Regions from separate parts of the Homo sapiens genome. Here all the other regions are linked to region 2. The links are contacts of gene promoters, found by promoter capture Hi-C in blood cells and fetal thymus (Javierre and others, 2016). All regions are on one chromosome and are shown on one strand. Each heading gives the region's core, a stretch centred on a gene start or on the middle of the fragment in contact. The rest is flanking DNA. Distances are from core to core; before and after follow the strand shown.

Evidence for each region. The method cuts DNA at HindIII sites, captures the fragments that hold promoters and counts their contacts. A CHiCAGO score of 5 or more calls a contact.
Region 1: a contact is called between a fragment that was not itself captured here and the fragment with the promoter of FAM78A in region 2, in 2 of 17 cell types (naive CD4 T cells and non-activated CD4 T cells). The highest score is 5.9, in naive CD4 T cells.
Region 3: a contact is called between a fragment that was not itself captured here and the fragment with the promoter of FAM78A in region 2, in 4 of 17 cell types (erythroblasts, megakaryocytes, fetal thymus and 1 more). The highest score is 9.7, in erythroblasts.

What each region holds. Positions count from the first base shown.
Region 1 is chr9:131,499,105-131,501,804 of GRCh38, forward strand. PRRC2B (proline rich coiled-coil 2B) reads left to right here. Exons shown (of 32, transcript NM_013318.4): 32 at 1-1,089. It also overlaps the pseudogene LOC124902290. Among named protein-coding and RNA genes, the nearest start is that of POMT1, 2.5 kb to the right of the region's middle. RefSeq lists an enhancer at 912-2,111. The HindIII fragment of the contact is 1,286 bases long and covers 714-1,999 here.
Region 2 is chr9:131,275,200-131,277,899 of GRCh38, forward strand. FAM78A (family with sequence similarity 78 member A) reads right to left here and starts at 1,311. Exons shown (of 2, transcript NM_033387.4): 1 at 658-1,311. The coding sequence starts at 980. RefSeq lists enhancers at 1-40, 26-638, 51-100, 131-180, 341-840 and a silencer at 1,481-2,660. The HindIII fragment of the contact is 5,571 bases long and covers 531-2,700 here.
Region 3 is chr9:131,122,184-131,124,883 of GRCh38, forward strand. AIF1L (allograft inflammatory factor 1 like) reads left to right here. Exons shown (of 6, transcript NM_031426.4): 6 at 1-961. Among named protein-coding and RNA genes, the nearest start is that of NUP214, 2.1 kb to the right of the region's middle. The HindIII fragment of the contact is 4,223 bases long and covers 1-2,700 here.

The sequences.
Region 1 (2,700 bases), core at 107-2,606, 220 kb after region 2:
GCTGTGGTCCTTCCAGCCACTTCTAGGGACACTGGGGAACCTTGTTAAACGTTGACATCAGTGCTCTCCAGCCGTGCTGTCACCCTCCTATCTTCTGGATCTGCCTTCGCGATGGTCAGTGACAGCTTCTGGAAGCTGAGCACACACAGGTGCACAGCCATGCTGTGGTCTGGCCTGCTACGGCAGCATGGCAGCTCTGGTGGAGCCTTCTCCCTTGCCATTTGGTTCCCCTGTGCCAAGTAGCTGCAGGCTGCCCCTCAAATCTTCATTTGTCCCTTTTCACTTCCTGCAGAACAAGCCTGGGTTAGAGGGTCTGCTGGAAATGGCCTTTGAAGACCAAGGATACCAGGATGTGTGCACTCTGTCGTGTTCTGTGATGAATGGGAAACGTAGGCTTCCAGAAAGCCAGCTCTCTTCTGAAATGTGACGGACCTAAGCAGGAAGTCATCCAGGACAGGAGTGGCTCAGTGTTGGGGATGGACGCTGTCGCCCAGCCATGCTCCACCAGGGCCACCAATGTGTAGTTGGCTGGTGGTCTTCGGGCATGTGAGACCTGCTCTTCACTGTTTCCACCCCACTTGGTGGCCTCCAGGATGGTAGTGGCACCCTCAGAGCCCCATCTTCAGCATGTTCTGAAGCCTCAGAGTGGAAATTCCTGCTAAGGCTCTGTGTGGACGCCTTTCTCCCGTGATCTAAAGGGGACACTGTACTCAAGCTTTTGACCTCATGCCTTGTGTAGTAAAAAAGGATTTGGGGGTTTTGTTTGGTTCCTGAGAGGGTTGTGTTTTGTTTTTGTTTCCTTTTGTTTATGTTTTGGCCTTTCCTCTTTGTCTTTCCATGTAGACCAGATATTTGAAAGGGCAGACGATGGCTAGAGGTGTAATGTGCAGCTTGTTTATACGGTATTTTGGGAAACTTACCTTGGATGGGAAATCGAATCGTGGATTCACCAGGCCGGTGCTGGCACACTCACCCTCGCCCTTTCCCTCCGGTTCAGTACCTATTGTTTCTCCTTTCAAATATGTGATTGTACTAGCTCTTTCCATATGAAAGAATTCTCCTTATTTAAATAAAAAAAGTTTAAAAAGATAAAGCTGAACGTGCTTTCTCAGGTTGTACATCCCTCGTTTCTTGGTCATTTGACCAGAGAGACCTACAGATCAAAGAATTCTAATTTTACAGAGTTCACACGGAAATTAGGAGTGGCACGGCTGAAATGCCTTAACAGAAGCTGTGTGGGTAGAGAAGGGATTGAAACCCGTGGCTAAGAAGCATCTTCCAAATGCGGCAGCATCAAGCACTCCACCCTCTTCCCACGGATGGCATCTGGTTGTGCACAGTGCCTGCCTGTGGCCCCGTCACTTGCCGTGAGAAACGAGCTGGTCAGAGGAGGTAAGCATTTGATGTGGCGTGTTGTGTTGTCACTTCTAGCGGTGCTTTTGCAGGAAGTGGAGGAGGATTATGCTGTGCTTTGGGGTGGGGAGGGAGCAAGCCAGGCCTGGGGTAGCGAAGGGTAAAAGGTAAGAATGGGCTGAGGCAGCAGTTCTCGGTTTTGCCATTGCCTCACTGACCTGGGGAAAGACGTTTCACCACCTGAGTCAGTCTCCTTAATCATAAAACACAGATTGTAATGGTATCGACCTCATGGCGTAGTGTGGATTCAAAGTCACCAGTAGCTTTTAGCTTAGTGCCTAGAACCAGCTAAGAAAACTTATAAATTACCCCCAAGAAATAAAACGCTGTTTCCATGAGGAACCCCAGTCCCTCAACTTCCTTCTAAGCCTTTTGACTATGGAAGAGAGTTGGGGACCTGGCCATGGGCATCTCAGCTTTAACTAGCCACACTCACTGCCCTGATTTACTGCTCCCTAGGGACAGGTGGCTCACAAAATCTCAAACGGAGACCAGCCCTGAAAGAGGCTAGTCCTAAGGTTGGGGGCTTGCAAGATGGAGGCTGTAAGTCCTGAGGCACCACCACTGTTAGCATGGCATGAACCAAAGCTTAACAGCCCAGCCCCACTCCCTCCTGGGGCCCAGGGAACCCTCCCTGCCCACTGTAAATACAGTTGCCTGCAGGCTCTGGCCACAAACCCAGGTGAGCCCCAGCTCCTTGCCTCTCTGTGGGATCTTGGGTGAGTCACATAACCCCTCAAGGGTAAGCCATAAAGAAGTAACCACGAAATTCTAACTGGTGTCATCTAATGCTATGTTGCCCAACATGGAAAAAAAGTCTTGCAGGCAGCCAAGAACCATAATGAAGGTTATTAAACCTGCAGTGTGCCCTTTTGGTCTGTATAGATTAACATACAAATAGACCAGGAGATCAAGAAGGAGCGAGGCTGAGAAGAGTGATCCATCAGCCTGGTTGCGTTGCTGTCAGTTACCCTGCTCTGGGTGCCGACTGTTCAGGGAAAACATGGGAAGGGGTGCATTGACCCAACCAAAAGTACCATGTCTGCTCCAAAGCAGGCCTTTGGGAAGGCTCTTGACCCTCAGCAGAGGGGGCTGGAGAGGCTGATGGATGAGGAGGAGCCCTGGGAATGGAGGAAGAAGCCTCCAGTCTTCTGCCACGGAGTTTAGGGGAGATGCCCCCACTGGAGCCTCTGATGGTCATGCAGCCCCCACTGATGTCCAGGTTTTTTTGGTTTTGTTTTTTGTTTTGAGACGGTCTCACTTTGTAGTCCAGGCTGGAGTGCAGTG
Region 2 (2,700 bases), core at 61-2,560:
GGGCCTCGCCAGAGGGACACTGGACTTGTCTGCATAAAGCGGTCTTCTGCCTTGGAGACAGAAAGCGATACACTGTGAAGAAATCGGGCTTCTAAAACTAACTGTGCTCTCAAACACAGTGCCGTTTGGAACGGGGAAGCACTCCCCCAGCTCCTGGCATACACTGGTAAAAGCCAGAAAGATAATTGAGGCCCAATCGCAAAGCCCTGAACACACCGGTCTGGGAGTTGCAGAGTGCCTGAATGTCTGCCATGGGCCCGCACAGGGCCAGAGGCCTGGAGGGCAGCCCTGCAGCCTCTCTGGTGACCCCTGATGGCACAGACACTCCTCAGGCGGACGGCACACTTGCTCTGCCAGGAAACACTGGGAGTAATGTCTCTCTGCTTTCTCGGCATCTTGCAGGGAAGGACACAGGAACCCGGGGGGAACAGTGGCAGGGTAGATTGCAGGACCGTGACTCCAATCTGGATCCACAGGCAAACTTTTCAGGGAGCCACCGGGCCAATGAGGCCACCTGCATACCTGCCTAAAGCTTCCCTCTGGCCTCCGTCCTGTCTTCATGGTATCTCCACCTTCCCCCTATCCGCGGCCCCCCACCAGGCCTCCAAGCTCGGCCATCCCTAGCAGTTCCCAGAGCTGGCTCTCGGCCGTACTCACATGCCCTGCTCGCCGTACTGGTTGTAGAACTCCATGTGGCTGCACGCCTGGATCCAGCCAACTACCCAAGTCTCCTTCTTGGGGATGGGCGGCATGACCACCTGGGCCGAGGCCCGGAAGTGGGGTGTCCGGTAGCGGAGCACCACGCTGGAGGACTCATCGATGCTAGTGGGGACGGGGTCGATGGAGGCTTTCACATCAATCACCGTGATCCCTTCCCGGAAGACTCTGGCTTTGCCTCCGATGCTCTGAATACAGCCCATGGCATACAGGAGCGCTCTGATCTCCAGGGAAGGCCAGCAGTCACAGAAAAAACCAGGCATTGAAAGGACAGAGGCTGCAGGACCCAGTACAGACGGCGCTGCTCTCCAATCTCAACTCTCAAGACCGATATCCATAGGATAGAAAACTCACTGAGTAGACTGGGGTTGCATATATCACTACCGCGGCCTGTTTATAAATAAGGATTCTGCTGCATTTCATGAGCCCTGGGCTCTCTCTTCTTCTCCTCGCAGTGGACAAAAATCACCGATATTCTTTGGGTTAAAAAAAGTTTGTAGTTTAATGAATAATTATGCGGTTCTGACATCCAGCCCTTCTGTGCCTCACACGCGGGGACGGCAGCTCGCAGACTCTCCCTGAAGTCTTCGGAGGAAGCAGGCGAGCGCCGGCAGACTCATAAATAAGGAAGGCTCTGTCCCCGCGCGGCCGCGCCACCCTCGCGGCAGAAGCCTGACTTCCTGCCCTCCGGCCTTCCGCACGCGCTCCCTCCGGGCCCCGCACCCGCACCCGCCCGGCGCGGTCGAATCAATTGCAGAGCAGTTTGTGTTCACCCGGCCGAGGTCCCGGCGCCCTCGGGGCGAGCGCCGACCCGCGGCTTCCAGGAGGCGAGCTCAGGGCTCCGGCCGCTCGCCGGTGACGGGGGAGCGCGGCGCGGGTCCCCGTCGGCGCCCACTCGCGGGCGCGGGCCGGACGTCCCCACGCAGGGGCGCCGCGTCCCTTCGCCGCTGTCGCTGCCGGCCGCCGTGCAGGGTCCCGGGGCTGCGCTCCGGCCGCCGCCGCCTGCTTCGCCGCGGCCGCCGAGGACCTGGTGGGAGGTGGAAGGGACAGCGCGTCAAGGCCAGCCTCAAAGTTAAGCCGAACTTTGCTGCGGGGGGCGCGCGGGGGCGGCGACGCGTGTGCGCTGGGCGCGGGCTGCGGAGCTGACGGCGCAGCTCTGGGCGGTCTCCCCGGAGGCGGTGGCCCCCGCCCCCCGCGCCCGCCCCGTCAGTGGCGGCCGCACGACCGCGCGCACCAGCGAATAATAGCCGCCCGTGACATCTCCGCTGATACCGTCCCGGACGGGCGGGGTGGGGGGCGAGCGGCTGCCGCTGCAGGGGGCGGCGAGCACTTGCCCTGCTCTGTCCCCACCGCCGCGCCGCCAGCGCCAGGTGCCCCTTCCCCACCCCGGTCCCTCCGGCTCCCTGGGCGCAGGGCCACCCACCAGTGCCGTCGGATCCGGCGGGCACCCCTTTCCCGGCTGGGGTCCCTCGGCCCTCGGAGGGCATAGTGCCCCCGCTCCGCCGCGTCAAGCGCCTCTGTCGCCCCTCTCCAGCCGCGAGCAGCCCCGGGTCCCCACGCGTCGGGCGCGCTCGCCGCTGCCGGGGAACTTTGGCGCGCACGCCCCCACTCGGGCGGCGCCGCCGACTCACCTGCCCCGGGGGCCACTCCGCTGGCCCGGGCAGCCGCTCTCCGGACGCCCCTGACCCGGCCGCGGGCACGTTCTTGGGGCGCCCCCACCCCCTTCCCCGGGCACTGTCCCTTGGCTCTACTGGAGTCTGGGGCCGGCGTGGGCGCCCCCGGCCCCCACCCTCCTCCCGGCTTGGGGCTTCGGGGGGGCGGCCGGGGGCGGAGGGCTGAGGCTCGGGGCTCTCTCGCCCCCACCCCGCGCGCCTCCTTTATTTTATGATCATTGTGAGCGCGCTGTCGCCGCTCAGCCCCGCCGCCGCGCCGCTGCCGCCTGGCGCGCCCCGCGCTGCCTCGCTCTGCTGCAGCATCGGAAAG
Region 3 (2,700 bases), core at 9-2,508, 150 kb before region 2:
TGGGAGGTCTTGGTGGTTGGAGCCAACGTGGGTTCCCTGCGGCTCCTTAGTCACCTCTGATAGCAGATTGAGGGAGGAAAACAGGTAAGGCATGAGGAAATGGCCAGGTTGGGTTAACCCACTGGTTTCAACCAGTTCAGGAATGAGGTTATTTGGCCATGACTGGCTGATCTTGAGCTCAAGGATCTGCTTCAAATGCACACAGGCCTAGTTGAAGTTTAAACCCCAGCAAAACATTCCTCCCTGTAAATGGAAAATCCTACTTCTACCCCCACCCTGCCCTGTTTTTTGTTTTTTTTTTCCCCAAGATCATTAGATGTCCTCACCCCTCCTCACTGCCTCTCCTCTCTGGGACAGGCTGGGACCTTTGAGGAAGATAAAGCCTTCCTTCACTACCCATCATATTCAGTGTCCCTGTTCCTCACTCAGAGAGGAAGGCAGAACCAGTCAGGCTTATTTCAGTAAGTTCCACAGTTCTACAAGACTGCAGGAATTCTCCTTAAGGGAGGAGAGCAAGCAGGTGTGGCCCCAGCTTCTGGAAATGGCAGAAGAGAGGGTTTTCTCATTGAATGGGGGTGGGGGCTCGTGTGTCCTGGGAAACCCCATCAGTCCCTTCATTTCTTGAGACTCAACTCCTGGGAGGAGAGGGTCTCAAGAGTTGTCCCTGGAAGGAGGGCGGGGGCAGTCTGCATCTATTTCAGGTTGTGGCTCTTGGTTCTAGGACTCTTACTTCTCTGGCTAAGGGCTCAGCTTCTTGGGACTTCAACCATCTTCTTTCTGAAAGACCAAATCTAATGTAACCAGTAACGTGAGGACTGCCAAGTATGGCTTTGTCCCTATGACTCAGAGGAGGGTTTGTCGGGCAAATTCAGGTGGATGAAGTATGTGTGTGCGTGTGCATGGGAGTGTGCGTGGACTGGGATATCATCTCTACAGCCTGCAAATAAACCAGACAAACTTACCAACGTCTTGATTGGTGTATTTTGGGGCTGGTTCTGGGCTCAGCAAATTGCGAACTAGCTAATATAGTAAGAGATTAAATGAGCATGTCCTGTGCCTTTTGTCTGAGACAGCTGAAATTCACTTATCCTAACCACCTCCCTGCAAGAGACAGGTTCTATTATGTCATCCTTGTTTCACAACTGAAAAGTAGGCTTGAATAAGCAATGTGCTGCAAGCCAAACAGTAAATGGCACAATCCGACCCCCCTGGAGCCAACCCATGAGGTCCAAGTTAAGAACCTCTGTCGGCCGGGCGCGGTGGCTCACGCCTGTAATCCCAGCACTTTGGGAGGCTGAGGTGGGCGGATCACGAGGTCAGGAGATGGAGACCATCCTGGCTAACACGGTGAAACCCCGTCTCTACTAAAAATACAAAAAATTAGCCGGGCGTGGTGGCGGCCGCCTGTAGTCCCAGCTACTTGGGAAGCTGAGGCAGGAGAATGCTGTGAACCCGGGAGGCAGAGCTTGCAGTGAGCCGAGATCGCGCCACTGCACTCCAGCATGAGTGACAGAGTGAGACTCCGTCTCAAAAAAAAAAAAGAACCTCTGTCCTAGAGCATTTATAATTCACTACAGAAATGTATTCTATGAAGGACTTTAATACCATCAGTCAGCCTTATCCAGACGATCTCAATTCTAATCCTGTCACCACCACTTTCTGACTGAGGGCTATTGGAGAATTTTCTCAACTTCTCTGTGCCTCCCTTACCTCATCAATTATTATTATGTATGTGTATGTGTGTGTGTGTATATATATATATATGTGTGTGTGTGTATATATATATGTGTGTGTGTGTGTGTATATATATATATATATATATATTTTTTTTTTTTTTTTTTTTTTTTTCTGAGACAGAGTCTCACTCTGTCACCCAGGCTGGAGTGCAGTGGCACAATCTTAGCTCACTGCAACCTCCACCTTTTGTGTTCATGCGATTCTCCTGCCTCAGCCTCCTGTATAGCTGGGAACACAGGCGTCCGCCACCACACCCGGCTAATTGTTGTATTTTTAGCAGAGACGGGGTTTCACCATGTTGGCCAGGCTGGTCTCGAGCTCCTGACCTCAGGTGTTCCACCCACCTCGGCCTCCCAAAGTACTGTGGTTACAGGCGTGAGCCACTGCTCCCAGCCTATTTTTATTTACTTTTTTTTTTTTTTTTTTTTTGAGACGGAGTCTCGCTCTTTCGCCCAGGCCAGACTGCAGTGGCGCTGTCTCTGCTCACTGCAACCTCCGCCTCCCGGGTTCACGCCATTCTCCTGCCTCAGCCTCCCGAGTAGCTGGGACTACAGGTGCCCGCCACCGCGCCCGGCTAATTTTTTGTATTTTTAGTAGAGTCGGGGTTTCACCGTGTTAGCCAGGATGGTCTCCATCTCCTGACCTCGTGATCCGCCCGCCTCGGCCTCGCAAAGTGCTGGGATTACAGGCGTGAGCCACCGCGCCCGGCCTTTTATTTACTTTTTGAGACAGGGCCTGGCTCTGTCACCCAGGCTGGAGTGCAATGGTGCAATCACAGCTCCCTGTAGCCTCAACCTCCTGGGCTCAGGCAATTCTCCCACCTCAGCCTCCCGAGTAGCTGAGACTACATACGCATGCCATCACTGCTGGCTAATTTTTGTGGTTTTGTTTTGTTTTTTATAGAGACGGGGTCTCGCCATGTTGCCGAGGCTGGTCTCAAACTCCTGGTCTCAAGCAATCCTC